2 separate regions of the Homo sapiens genome follow, and region 1 is linked to region 2. The links are contacts of gene promoters, found by promoter capture Hi-C in human tissues and cell types (Jung and others, 2019). All regions are on one chromosome and are shown on one strand. The core of a region is centred on a gene start or on the middle of the fragment in contact, and the rest is flanking DNA. Distances in the headings are between cores, read along the strand shown.

Region 1 (6,432 bases), core at 2,312-4,811, 76 kb before region 2:
GAGTGCAGTGGCGCAATCTCGGCTCACTGCAAGCTCCGCCTCCCAGGTTCACACCATTCTCCTGCCTCAGCCTCCTGAGTAGCTGGGACTACAGGCGCCCGCCACCACGTCCGGCTAATTTTTTGTATTTTTAGTAGAGACGGGGTTTCACCGCGTTAACCAGGATGGTCTCGATCTCCTGACCTCATGATCTGCCCTCCTTGGCCTCCCAAAGTGCTGGGATTACAGGTGTGAGCCATGGTGCCTGGCTAACTCATGGATTATTTAGAAGTGTGTTATTTAGTTGGGGATTGACTTCCAATTTAATTCTATTGTTGTCAGAAGAGACATTTAGTATGATTTTCACCCTTTAAAATATATTGACACTTCCATTATGGTGCAGAATACAGTCTGTTTTGGCTAACGCTTTCTGTGTACTTGAAAGATATGTATTCAGATGTTGGATGGAGTGTTCTATAAACAGTAATTAGGTTAAGTTGTTTGATGATGTTGTTCATGTCTTCTATATCAGAGATTGGCAGGCTGGGTGTGGTGGCTCATGCCTGTAATCCCAGCATTTTGGGAGGCCAAGGCAGGTGAATCACCTGAGGTCAGGAGTTCGAGACCACCCTGACCAACATGGTAAAACCCTGTTTCTACTAAAAATACAAAAATCAGCTGGAAATGGTGGCGCATACTTGTAATCCCAGCTATTCAGGAGGCTGAGGCAGGAGAATCGCTTGAACCTGGCAGGCAGAGGTTGCAGTGGGCCGAGATTGCGCCACGGCACTCACACCTGGGTGACAGTGCGAGACTCTGTCTCAAAAAAAAAAAAAAAAAAGATTGGCAAACTTTTTTTAAAGAGCCACATTATAAGATTATAAATATTTTTGTCAGTGGAGGCCATACCATCTCTGTTGCAACTCAACTACTGAACTCTGCCATTATAGCATGAAGGCAGTCACCAACAGTATATAAAAAAGTGTTTGTGGTTGTTTTCCAATAAAACTTTATTTACAAAAACAAGGCTAATCTGTTTTCAGACCTCTGTTCTATAAGTTTATTGATTTTCTGTCTGCTTGTTCTGTCAGTTATTGAGAAGATGTGTCGAAATCTCCAGCCATAACTGTGGATTTGTCTATTTTTCCTTTTAGTTTTTGCTTCATATATTTTGAAGTCATGTTATTAGGTGCATTAATATTTAGGATTTTTATGTTTTCTTGACTAAGTAACTCTTTATCATTATGGAATGTCCCTCTTTATTCCTGGCAATAGTTCTTGTCCTGAAATCTATTTTATATGATATTAGTATAGCATCCCAGCTTTTCAAAAAGAGTAACTTCATGGTATGTGTGTATTATATATATGGAATATATATATTATATATATGAAATATATACAATATGGAATATATATTATATATATGAAACATATACAATATAGAATATATATAATATGGAATATATAATATATGGAACATGCATATTATATATGGCATATATGAATATGCATATTATGTATGGTAAATATGAACATGCATATTATATGTGGTATATATGAATATGCATATTATATATGAATATGCATATTATATGTGGTATATATGAATATGCATATTATATATGGTAAATATGAATATGCATGTTATATATGGTATATATGAACATGCATATTATATATGAATATGCATATTATATATGGTAAATATGAATATGCATATTATATATGGTAAATATGAATATACATATTATATATGGTAAATATGAATATGCATATTATATATGGTATATATGAATATGCATATTATATATGGTAAATATGAATATACATATTATATATGGTAAATATGAATATGCATATTATATATGGTAAATATGAACATGCATATTATATATGAATATGCATATTACATATGACTATGCATATTATATGTGGTAAATATGACTATGCATATTATATGTGGTAAATATGAATATGCATATTATATATGGCAAATATGAATATGCATATTATATATGAATATGCATATTATATATGGAATATATATGAAATAATATATAGTGAAATATATTATATATTTATGTATTATAAAATATATAATATATAATAATATATACAAATGAAATATATATATATTTACACTCCACTTAAAAATTTTTAACCTATCTGTAGCTTTTATATTTAAAATGGATTTCTTGTAGACAGCATATAGTTAGGTCTTATTTTAAAAAAATTTGGTTGTGCACAGTGGCTCACGTCTGTAATCCCAGCACTCTGGGGGGCCGAGGCAGGTGGATCACCTGAGGTCAGGAGTTTGAGACCAGCCTGGCCAACATGGTGAAACCCCATCTGTACTAAAAATACAAAAAAATTAGCCAGGCATGACGGTGGAGGCCTGTAATTTCAGCTACTCAGGAGGTTGAGGCAGGAGAATCTCTTGAACCCGGGAGGCAGAGGTTGCAGAGAGCCGAGATCGCACCATTGCACTCCAGCCTGGGCAACAAGAGCAAAACTCCATCTCAAAAAAAAAATTTTTTTTTGATCTGATAATCTGTGCCTTTTAGTTAGAATGTTAGAACATTTACATTTACTGTGATGATTGATATGGCTGAATTTAATTCTAGCATATTGCTAGTTTCTTTCTATGCCATCTGTTCTTTGTTTTTCCTTTTTTTCCTGCTTTATTTTTCTTCTGCAATGTCTAATATGCTGTTAATCCCATCCATTGTAGTTTTTATTTGTAGAAGCTTAATTTTTGACTTTTTTATATGTTCAATTTCTCTTTTCATCATGTTCATGTTTTCTTCTCCCTTCTTGAACATGTTGAGTATTTTTATAATAGTTGTCTTAATGCCATAATCTAATAATTCTATCATTTGTGTCATTTGTTGATCTGTTTCTATTGATTAATTTTTCTCCTTATATTTTCCTGTTTCTTTGCATGTCTGATGATTTTTGATTGAATAGCAGATTTATAAGTGTTTTGATCCTGGGTGCTGGATTTTTGTCTGTTTGTGCTTTGTTCTGGGATAGAGTTTGATTCTTTTGTGACTTGCTTTTAAGCATTGACCCAGAATAGCCTTTAATCTAGGACTAATTTGGCCCCATTGTTGAGTTCCATTCTGGCCAGTGGGAACATGAACACTTCCTGGCCCTGTGTCAACCCTAGGGATTGTTCTGTCTGCTACTTTTCCGTGGTTCTTTACCTAGCCTCACAAGTTTCTTCACATACATGCAATGATCAGTATTCCACTGACTAACCAAGGAGAGCCCTGTGCAGAATTTCAGTACCACCTACCCCCTCTCTTCAGCTCTCTTTCTGGTACTCTGCCTTGTTAATTCTGTCTACCTTGTCTTCTGAACACTGTCTCTGTAAATCAGGGAGACCACAAGAATCTGTTTAAGCCTCCCTCCCAGCACTGGAGCCTGAAACTCCCTTCAGAGATGAGACAGCACAGCGATGGGGCTCACCTCATTTGTTTTCATTCCCTCAGAGATCATCATCCTGCACTGTTGGTAAAATCTGAAAACCATTGTTTTGCATATTTTGTTTTGTTTAGTTGTTTAAGATGGGAGGGTAAGTCTACTCCCTGTTATACCATCATGACCAGAAGCAGAAGTCATATAATTTGATCTGCCTAAACACCAACAAAAAAGGTTCTTTAGGTCAGGTGACTAGAGCCCTGAATTGAATTGCCATAATAGGGAGTCACAGTCCCTTATCCAGTTCCCAGACCAAAGCCAGTTCACAGACCAGGTATCCCTTGAATAAAGAGGAGGCTGGAATCCCTGAGGAATTACCTTGTGACATTGCCCCCAAGCCAGGCCCAAGAGACTCAGGCATGGTATTCCTTTTAGAAGTGCTGAGAAAAGTTACTCTTTCTCTGCTGGGATTGCTCAGCTAGGAAGAGGTAAGGATGGAGATGCTGTGGCCATTGTGGGGTGGGTCAAGACATATGGAGGAAACAAGAACAAAGAAATGGACACAGCCTGGTTCCTGAAGCCACCTTTTGAGCCCCCACACCAGCCTTGTGGGTCATGGTTGTTCAGTCTCATGAGCCAATGTATTACCTGTTTTGCTTAAGTCGCTTTGAGGTGGGTTTCTGTGTTGGGTTGAGACCTGAGGAATTTGTGTCAGGGCATGAAAGGAGCTTCTTGAGAGAGGAAGCACTCCCAGGGTCTGGATCACATGAAATAGCCCAGGAAAAATCCAGGCAATGTGAGTCTGCAGATTCCAATTGGGAATGCCAACTAGGGATACCAAGGAGCTCACCTAGCCCCAAGAAGATGAGGGGGGCAAACCAGACATCCCAATTCCAGAGCTCAACCCTTGCCAGGATACTACCTGCAGCCCCTCTGGGACTTCCATGTCCTCTTTCTTGTCTCTATAAGCATATGTGACATCTGACTTGTGACAGGTCTGGGGCTAGTGCTCCAGTGGGGAGGTATATTCAGCTTTTCTTGCATTGTTATAAAGAAATACCTGAGACTGGGTAATTTATAAAGAAAAGAGGTTTAATTGGTTCATGGTTCTGCAGGCTGTACAAGCATGGTGCTGGCATCTGCTTGGCTTCTGGGGAGGCCTCAAGAAGCTTACAGTCATGGTGGACGGTGAAGCAGGATCAGGTACCTCATATAGCAAAAGCAGGAGCAAAAGAGAGAGAGAGTGGGAGGGGGTAGGTGGCACACACCTAAACAATTAGATCTTGTGAGAACTTACTACAGTGAGGACAGCACCAAGCCATGAGGGGTCCACCCCCATGACCAAAACTCCTCCCACCAGGCCCCATCTGCAACACTGGGATTACAATTCAACATGAAGATTTGGTGGGGATAAATATCTAAACTATATCAGGAGGAGAAAGGGATACACAGGGGGTTCTGCATTCCTTGAGGGTAAGGTCCGAGCAGGAGGCTGGGAGCTGATTTTCTACACAGGTTACCCTGCCTCTTCTATACCCTATCATACGGTGGGTGGTGTCCTTAGATATGCACATCTCCCCTCCCAGCCCCCAGACTTCTCAGATATCACTGAGCTCCAATTGCACTGAAACCAGTATCCCCCTCACCATGTACCTCCCTCACCCAGCCCATTATCCATCCAGGAGCCATTCAGGGGTGCATCCTTAGTTCTAGGCCCTGGACCAAGCTCTGGGGCTACAGTATTGCCAGATATGTCCCTTCTTTCTACAAGTGGAGGTGAAAGTCAGCCAGTCCTGGAAAGCCCCAGCATGGCTCCACATGGATGCATTGCCAAGAAGAAGCAGAAGTGTGTGTGAGTTCTTACCCACTAGAATGGCTATAGTAAATTAGACAGACCAAAATTACTGTCGAGGGTGTAGAGAGATGGGAATGCTCATACACTGCTGGTGGGAATGTAAGGTGGTGTAGCTGCTTTGGAAAATAATTTGGTGGCTGGCCGGGTGTGTAATGGTGGCATGCCTCATGCCTGTAATCCCAGCGCTTTGGGATGCTGAGGTGGGAGGATCACTTGAGGCCAGGAGTTCAAGACCAGCCTGGGCAACATAGCGAGACCTCATCTTAAAAAGAAAACAAAAATAATTTGGTGGTTTCTCAAACAGTTAAACATAACACTACCATACAACCCAGCAATTCCACTCCTAGGTGGAATAAAATGAAAATAAGAGAAATGAAAGCATATGTCCACACAGAAACTTGTACATTAATGTTCTTAGCAGCATTATTCATAATAGTCAAAGAGTAGAAACAACCCAAATGCTCATCAACTGATGAATGGATAAACAGTATGTGGCATAATGAAACATTATGCAGCTATGAAAAGGAATGAAGCCCATTTACATGCTCCAACATGATGAACCTTGAAAACATTAAGCTAATTGAAAGAAGCCAGTCACAAAAGGCCACATATTGTATTTGTTACCACAAGTTGTTGAATTCTATACTTGAAATGGATGAGTTTTATGACATGTAAAATACACCTCAGTAGTTTTTTCTTTTTAAAAAAAGTGTGTTAGGAGACTGAGGAGGAGTAACGTGGGTGGACGGTGGAGATGGAAGACTCAGTTCTGAGGTTTGTCTTCCTTAATAATTCAGAAATCTGCCCAATTCTTTCCATTCCTACTGCCACCACTCTGGACCAAGCTGCTATCATCTGTCTGTCTGTTTCCCTGACCACTGCCACAGTGTCCTCACTGACCTCCCCATACCTGCTCCTTTGCCCTCTCCATTTACTGGCCACACCACAGTCAGCTGCGGGTCTTTTTTGCAATGTGGCTTTGATTGGATCACTGCTGCTTAGAAAAAAGCATAGGCACAAATCTCTGAGCTAGGCAAGCATTCGTAGATATGACACCAAAAGCACAAGCAACCAAAGGGGAGGAAAGCCAGATAAATTGTACTTCATCAATATTTAAAACTTCGTGTTTCAAAAACACTATCAATAAAATGAAAAGACAAGCCGCGGAATGGGAG
Region 2 (6,922 bases), core at 1,268-3,767:
GCCTCCAGAGACCACATGAGCCACCACCAGGAAGGATGTACCTGGGTTGGGATGGCAGGGAAGGGATCTGGGCAACCCAGTGGGCACCTGTCATCACTGGCTTGGAGGACTGGGCAGGAAGGCTGCCTGAAGAGGTCTGAGAGCAGAGCTGAGATCGCCCTGGCACCACTGGGGAGGACGTGAGCTCACTGGCCCTTCTACGGTTGCGTAGCCCACCGCCTTCCCACCCCATGGGCCACCAATCTGCATGTAAGCCTGCCATGGGCCTGTCTGCCTACCATGGCTTCCACTGGCTCACCAGGCAGGCTGCCCTTTCATCTGTCTCTGCCCACCCATTATCGACACTGCCAGGATGCCAGCACACGCACACACAGCTCCTTCTCCATTCTGAGCTCCTCACAGTAACCCTGTGAGAGGGGACCATCATTACTTCCCTTTTACAGATGAGATGAGGACACTGGGGCACAGCCAGGTTATTGACTTCCCCAAGGACACATGGCTGGGGAGTGGCAGTGCTGGGGTTGGAACCCAGGCTGTGTCACCTGACAGGCTGAGCTCTTCCCCACTGTGGGATCTGCCCCTTGGCCCGTCTGTCTGTCCATCCGCCCATCCACTCTGTGACTGCCCACCGTTCAGCCCCTTCATTCGCCTGCCACTCTGTCCATCCAGCCGCCCGTCCATCCATCCATCGCTGTCGCCCATCCATCCTGGAGCTAATGCAGTTAGAGGACCAGGGGCCCTGAGGGGAGAGAAGGCCCCAAACTGCCCATCTGGCCGGGCCAGGGTGGCCGGGGGTGGGGTGGGCTGCCCAGGCCAGGCAGGCCTGCAGGGGGCTGGAGGGAATTAGCTGAGTGACTGCCAGGATCATCTAATTAGGAACTCTAGTGATAAGCAGATAGGATCGGGGGTGATTAGAATCCTTTTAAAAAGCCACTCCATTAATTACAGAGACAGAGAGGGGCCTCTGGCTGCTCCGAATACCAATTGGCTGCTTAATCGGCTCCATCAGCTCGCCCGGGGGAGACCTTCCTGGTACTGCTGTGTGACCTTCGGTGTGCCCTGCCCTCTCTGGGCCTCGCTTGGTCGCTGAAGGTCCTTCTCTCCCTGGCCATGGCTCGGGGTTGGCTTTAGGGTGGGCCTGAGATGAGGGACATGGGACATCTGAGGCCAGGAAGCCTAGGCTGGCTCCCCAGAGAGGGCAAATCCCCAAAAGCACCCACTGGTGAATGAGGACAGAGAGGCTTGAAGAGGGGAGGTGGCCTGACAGAATTGACGGTGGAGCGTGTGGGGCCTAAGTGTGCGCTCATGCCTGTGTGTCCCTGTCCCTCCAGCAGGCCCTATGGAGGCCTCAGAGCCCCTGATGCTCCCCACTGGCTCCCCAAAAACTGGCGTGGAAGGAGACTAGCCTGAACCCTTTGCAGAAGGGAAACTCCTCTGCACACTGCCCGGCTCCACGGTCCACAGCTCCCTTCATGGGGAGCTCCCCACAGGGGCCTCCATCTCAGGATGCCCTTGATGGTGAGGTGTGGGACCTGCTCCCAGGTGACACACCTGTTCCCGTAAGTCCTACCGAGTGGTCTGTTCTGTGTGCCCTAAGACAGCCCTGAATGGGCGGCAGTGAGGGGGTCTCCAGCCCTGTCTCCATCCTGGCTGACTCCCACAGACCCATCCCAGGAACAAGGGTTGGAGCAGGGCAGTGGCTGGAAGAAATTTCCCCTGGGAGTACAACGCAGACCAGAGCCAGGGTCTCCAACAAGGCAGGGAGGGCCAGGACGGGGAGGCGGCCACAGGATTCTTGGATGCCTCATCATACTAGGTCCTTTGTCTCTTAACATTGTTTTCACCACCCCTCCTCCACTGTCCTGATTCCATCGTCATGGAAACTTCAGGCTTCACCTTTACAATGTCAGGCCACCAACACCCTCAGCAGTGTCACCATCACCATCAACACCCCAGCGTCCCATCCCCATCTCCTCTACCACTGCCACCAGCCCCACTATCACTATCATCTCTGTCACCGTCACCACGGTGCTCTCCACCCGTGTCAGCATTGTGTCACCACCACATCACTGTCACCACACTTCCTCCACCTCCATCTCCACCCACCATCCCATCTGTGACATCACCTTATCAGCTCTGCCACCAGTATCAACCACTCACACCGCCTTTGCCATCACCACCGTCATTGCCCCCTCTACTACCACCACCATCACCACCACCGGGTCTGCCTCAGCCAGACCCACCACTGCCTCTAATTAGACTGCCACCATCATCACTGCCACCACCACTGCCCCTCCAATGCCTTCCTGATGTCACCATCTGCTTTCTCTCTGCTATCCTCACACCCAACTCCATCACAACCACCACCTTCATCTGAGCCGCCATCACCCTCACAGTACACAGCCCTCAAATGTGTACCAAGGAGGAGGACATTTACTACACGCTGCACCCTGAACAGTCTGGGACCAGCGGTCAGGGAACAAGGAATCGAGATGCTCACCTGCAGCTCCCAGGTGAGCGGCTCTCTAGAGCTTGCCTGGGAGCTGCTGAGGAGCTCACGGTATTCCAGGAAGCTCCCCATCCATGCCTCAGCCTGTGGCTCAGAAGCAGGGTCTTCGCAGAAGATTGCCCCGAGCTGTTGCAAAGCTCACCATTGTCACCTGCCTGCAACGGCCTCTCTTTTCCACTCTCCAAATCCCTTGTATTGGCAGGCTCTAGTCTGGAATTATACCGGTGATGGGATTCTGGAAAATCCCTCAGATTTCTCCAGGATGCAAGGAGACCATGGAAGAGGTTGGTGTAATGCCAAGTTAGCAACAGAAAATACAGAGCCCCACACCTCAGTGCCATCACCATCGCCATCGGCACTCACACCAGCATGTCCACCACTGTGTCCTTCTCACCCCTCGGCACCCCCCTCTACCATTGCCTCTTCCACAACCACCCTCACCACCATCCTCCATTAATAGCACAATTCCTGCCTCCTATCCCATCACCACCACGGGTGTCCCCGGCACCAGCAGCACCAACACTGCTCCCAGCAGAGCCATCGTTACCAGCCCCGCTGTCAGTCCCATCTTGAGCATCTGGCATATGTTGGAGAACTGCTCACTCCCTCTTCCCCATGGGAATCTCAGGCCTCTCTTCCTATTGCCCTGAGATTTGCAGAACCTTCCTGAAGGAAACATTCTTTGCCCCATGGATACTGGCCTTGACCATGGGATGCAGCAAGACTGCCACACATCATGGCCCAACAGAAGCTTTCAGAGGCAGCCCAAGTTCCTGCTGTCTCTGAGTGGCACTGTCATGAGAGAGGGGTGTGCAGGTCAGAGCTGATTCTCCAGCCTGGGACCCACAGTGAGAAGCTATGGGAGGTGGGGCCCTGGCAGCTGCCTGTAGGCACCAGTGAGTGAAGTGGGGGGAACTAGATGTTTGTCGTGAGCCACTGAGAGGTGGAAGCTGTCACTGTGGTATAGCCGAACAAGATACAACCTCTGCTACCTCCACCACCTTCACCTTCATCATCACCATTACTGTCACCACTGCCAACCACACCAATGGCTCACTAGGAGCCATTCCCATCACCTCCTCATCATACCTGCACCATCACTGCCAACCACAACAAAGGCTCGCTGTTACCATCTCCTCTGGCATGACCATCACCACCACCACTACCATCATCAATTACTCTCAAGCACAAGCCTTGCTGCTGTCACCACCAGCATCACCATCATCATGATCAACTCCACCATCACCCATAATTACTCTCCCCCTCACACCCACCATGACCATTACCTCCACATCAACACTGCTCCCATGGTCACCTCTACTATATAATGACACCTTATCCATCTCCATGGACACCCACCGTGCCTCTCCCCACCAGCAACACAGTCAACAGCAGTGCCTCTCCCACTGCCACCGCCATCATGGAGAACTGTGCAGGGCAAGCATCTTTCTCCCGCCCCAGGAACAAGCCTGCAAGGGACAGCAGGTGCTAACTGCTAACCGAGACATAGTGACAAAAATCCAGCCACAGAGATAAAGAATCAGGTTCATCTGTAGCTACATCCAGTGGAGAAGTTCTGCTCTTCAACTCCTCTGCTAAGCCACATGTGTCAGCAGGTGTAGGTGGGTGGATGCCCAGCATGGGGGTGCGAGTCGTGCTTTTGATAAGCTGCATGGAGGGACAGCGATGGTCACTGGAGGCTGGGTTTACAAAGTGTCTCTACAGTCTGTCTCCATTCCTCCTGGCATTTGGGATTGGTTAGAACACACACTGTCCCCTGCTAGGAGCCTGAAACCTAGCACCCATGAGCACTGAAAGAAAAGAGAGAGAGGGAGGATAATAGAAAGGGATGAAGACTAGAAAAAGGAAGAGGAGGAAGAAGGGAGGAATGAAGGAAGGAAGGAGGAAGGAAAGAAGCCAGGAGTGAAGAAGGGAGGGAAGGGAGAAGGGGGAAGGGGAGGGAGGAAGGAAAGAAAGAAGGAAGGAAGGAGAAAGGGAGGAAGGAAGGAAGGAAGGAAGGAGGAAATGAAGGAAGGAGGGGGAAGGGAGGGAGGGAGGAGGGAAGGAAGGCAGGGAACGGAAGGGAAGGGAAGGGAAAGAAGGAGGGAAGGAGGGAGGGAGGAAGGGAGGAAGGAAAGAAGGCAGGCAGGAAGGCTATCTTTAGTTAAGACTTGGTGACCCAAACATCTAGGCTCTTTATTGGTGTGGTTAGTAGGTGGTTTAGCATGGTTTTGATCTTAATTGGAGTGGGGTGAGGTGAAGGTAGGAACAGATATTAATCAGTATTGTGAATTGCTGTTTCTATATATGATCCAACACCAGAACAAGAATTAAAGGAATATAAATGCCTAAGAATATTTGGTTACCTCACTCACCTGATTCGTTTTCTAGGGCTGTTACAAATTATTACAAACTGGGTAGCTCAATACAAAAGAAATCTCTTCCCCCAGTTCTGGAGGCCAGAGGTCTGAAATCGAGGTGTTAGTGGGGCCGCACTCCCTCTGGAGGCTGCAGGGAGAACCCTCCTGGCCCCCAGCTTCCAGCTGCGTCAGTGTCCATCTCCTATACGGACATGTGTCACTGGATTTAGGGCCCACTCAGATAATCCAGGATGATCTCATCTCGACATCCTTAATTTAATTACATCCGAAAAGATCCTTTTTCCAAATAAGCTCACATTCAGAGGTTCCAAGGATTAGGATAGGAACATATCTTTTTGGGGGCCACCATTCAACCCACTACAGTCAGTAATCAATATTTATCATCAATTCCTATTTTTCTTACCAGAATTGAGTGGAACACTTCTTTGGATTTGCTGTCCGCTGCAGCCTTGGCCCTGGTTTCACATCCCCTCCCTCACTGACTCGCTGTGTGACCTTGAGCACTGTGTGTCTCTGAGCCTGGTTCATCCAAGAGTTTACCGACGGCCCTCGTGTGCCAGCCACTGTCCTAGACAGGGACAGACTTTCCCGCCTTTGTGGAGCTTACCCCGGAAGACCTGGCCAGATAATGGGCACAAAAAAAGCAGGCTCTTGTCCCCACCCCAGCCTGCCTGAACCCCACCTTGGCCTCCTCTTGCCTCAGCTGCTGCCCAGCCATCGGCCGAGTGGACATACCCAGGACGCCCTTGCCCGCCTCCCCCACCACGGCCACAGACCTTTGTCACTCACCAAGGCTGGAATCCCGTGGCTGATCCTGCCTCTGCCCTTTGGCTCCCGGGACTCAGCCCACACCACCTGGGTCACAGAGCATCCCATTCCCACACACCGTTGTGGCCACCTCACCAGCAGGGGCAGGCCCATATGCCCAGGTTTGCCTGGTGAGGAGCTGGGGGCGGGGGTATGCCCCGCCCCGGGAGCTGACGTCATAAAAGGAGCTCTGGAGGGCAGCCCACTCTGGCCTGGCCCCACAGCGGCAGTGTCCCTCCCCTCCCCCCACTCCTCTCAGTGGGGGCCCCTCCAGTCCCTGAGAATTGGTACTACGAAAAGGTGAACTCCTGGGCAGAATCTTGCCTAGAGCTTGCGGAGTCCAGCCAGGCCCCTGCTGAAGGGCCCCAGACCACCGGCCACTTCTCCCCCGTCCATCTGACCAGCTGGGCCCCTGCGCCCACCTGGCCTCCACGTTCCCTCTCCTCTCACCCACACCCCTGGCCATGGCTAACTACTACGAAGTGCTGGGCGTGCAGGCCAGCGCTTCCCCGGAGGACATCAAGAAAGCCTACCGCAAGCTGGCCCTTCGTTGGCACCCCGACAAGAACCCTGACAATAAGGAGGAGGCGGAGAAGAAGTTCAAGCTGGTGTCTGAGGCCTATGAGGTTCTGTCTGACTCCAAGAAACGCTCCCTGTATGACCGTGCTGGCTGTGACAGCTGGCGGGCTGGTGGCGGGGCCAGCACGCCCTACCACAGCCCCTTCGACACCGGCTACACCTTCCGTAACCCTGAGGACATCTTCCGGGAGTTTTTTGGTGGCCTGGACCCTTTCTCCTTTGAGTTCTGGGACAGCCCATTCAATAGTGACCGTGGTGGCCGGGGCCATGGCCTGAGGGGGGCCTTCTCGGCAGGCTTTGGAGAATTTCCGGCCTTCATGGAGGCCTTCTCATCCTTCAACATGCTGGGCTGCAGCGGGGGCAGCCACACCACCTTCTCATCCACCTCCTTCGGGGGCTCCAGTTCTGGCAGCTCGGGGTTCAAGTCGGTGATGTCGTCCACCGAGATGATCAATGGCCACAAGGTCACCACCAAGCGCATCGTGGAGAACGGGCAGGAGCGCGTGGAGGTGGAGGAAGACGGGCAGCTCAAGTCGGTGACTGTGAACGGCAAGGAGCAGCTCAAATGGATGGACAGCAAGTAGGCGCTGGCCACCCGGCCCTGCCTTCCCACCACCACCACCGTGCATGGGGCAGCAAACACGTG

The links. The method cuts DNA at HindIII sites, captures the fragments that hold promoters and counts their contacts. A contact is called where the count stands out against the background at its distance.
Region 1: a fragment that was not itself captured here is called in contact with the fragment with the promoter of DNAJB8 in region 2 in 2 of the 25 tissues and cell types used here (H1 embryonic stem cells and IMR-90 fibroblasts).

The regions. Positions count from the first base shown.
Region 1 is chr3:128,539,868-128,546,299 of GRCh38, reverse strand. No RefSeq gene overlaps it. Among named protein-coding and RNA genes, the nearest start is that of LINC01565, 33 kb to the left of the region's middle. The HindIII fragment of the contact is 5,343 bases long and covers 890-6,232 here.
Region 2 is chr3:128,462,485-128,469,406 of GRCh38, reverse strand. It overlaps DNAJB8 (DnaJ heat shock protein family (Hsp40) member B8), which reads left to right and starts at 2,517. Exons shown (of 3, transcript NM_153330.6): 1 at 2,517-2,793; 2 at 3,971-4,131; 3 at 5,297-6,922. The coding sequence starts at 6,162. The coding sequence ends at 6,860. DNAJB8-AS1 (DNAJB8 antisense RNA 1) reads right to left here and starts at 5,813. Exons shown (of 3, transcript NR_037890.1): 1 at 5,680-5,813; 2 at 5,294-5,507. The HindIII fragment of the contact is 25,608 bases long and covers 1-6,922 here.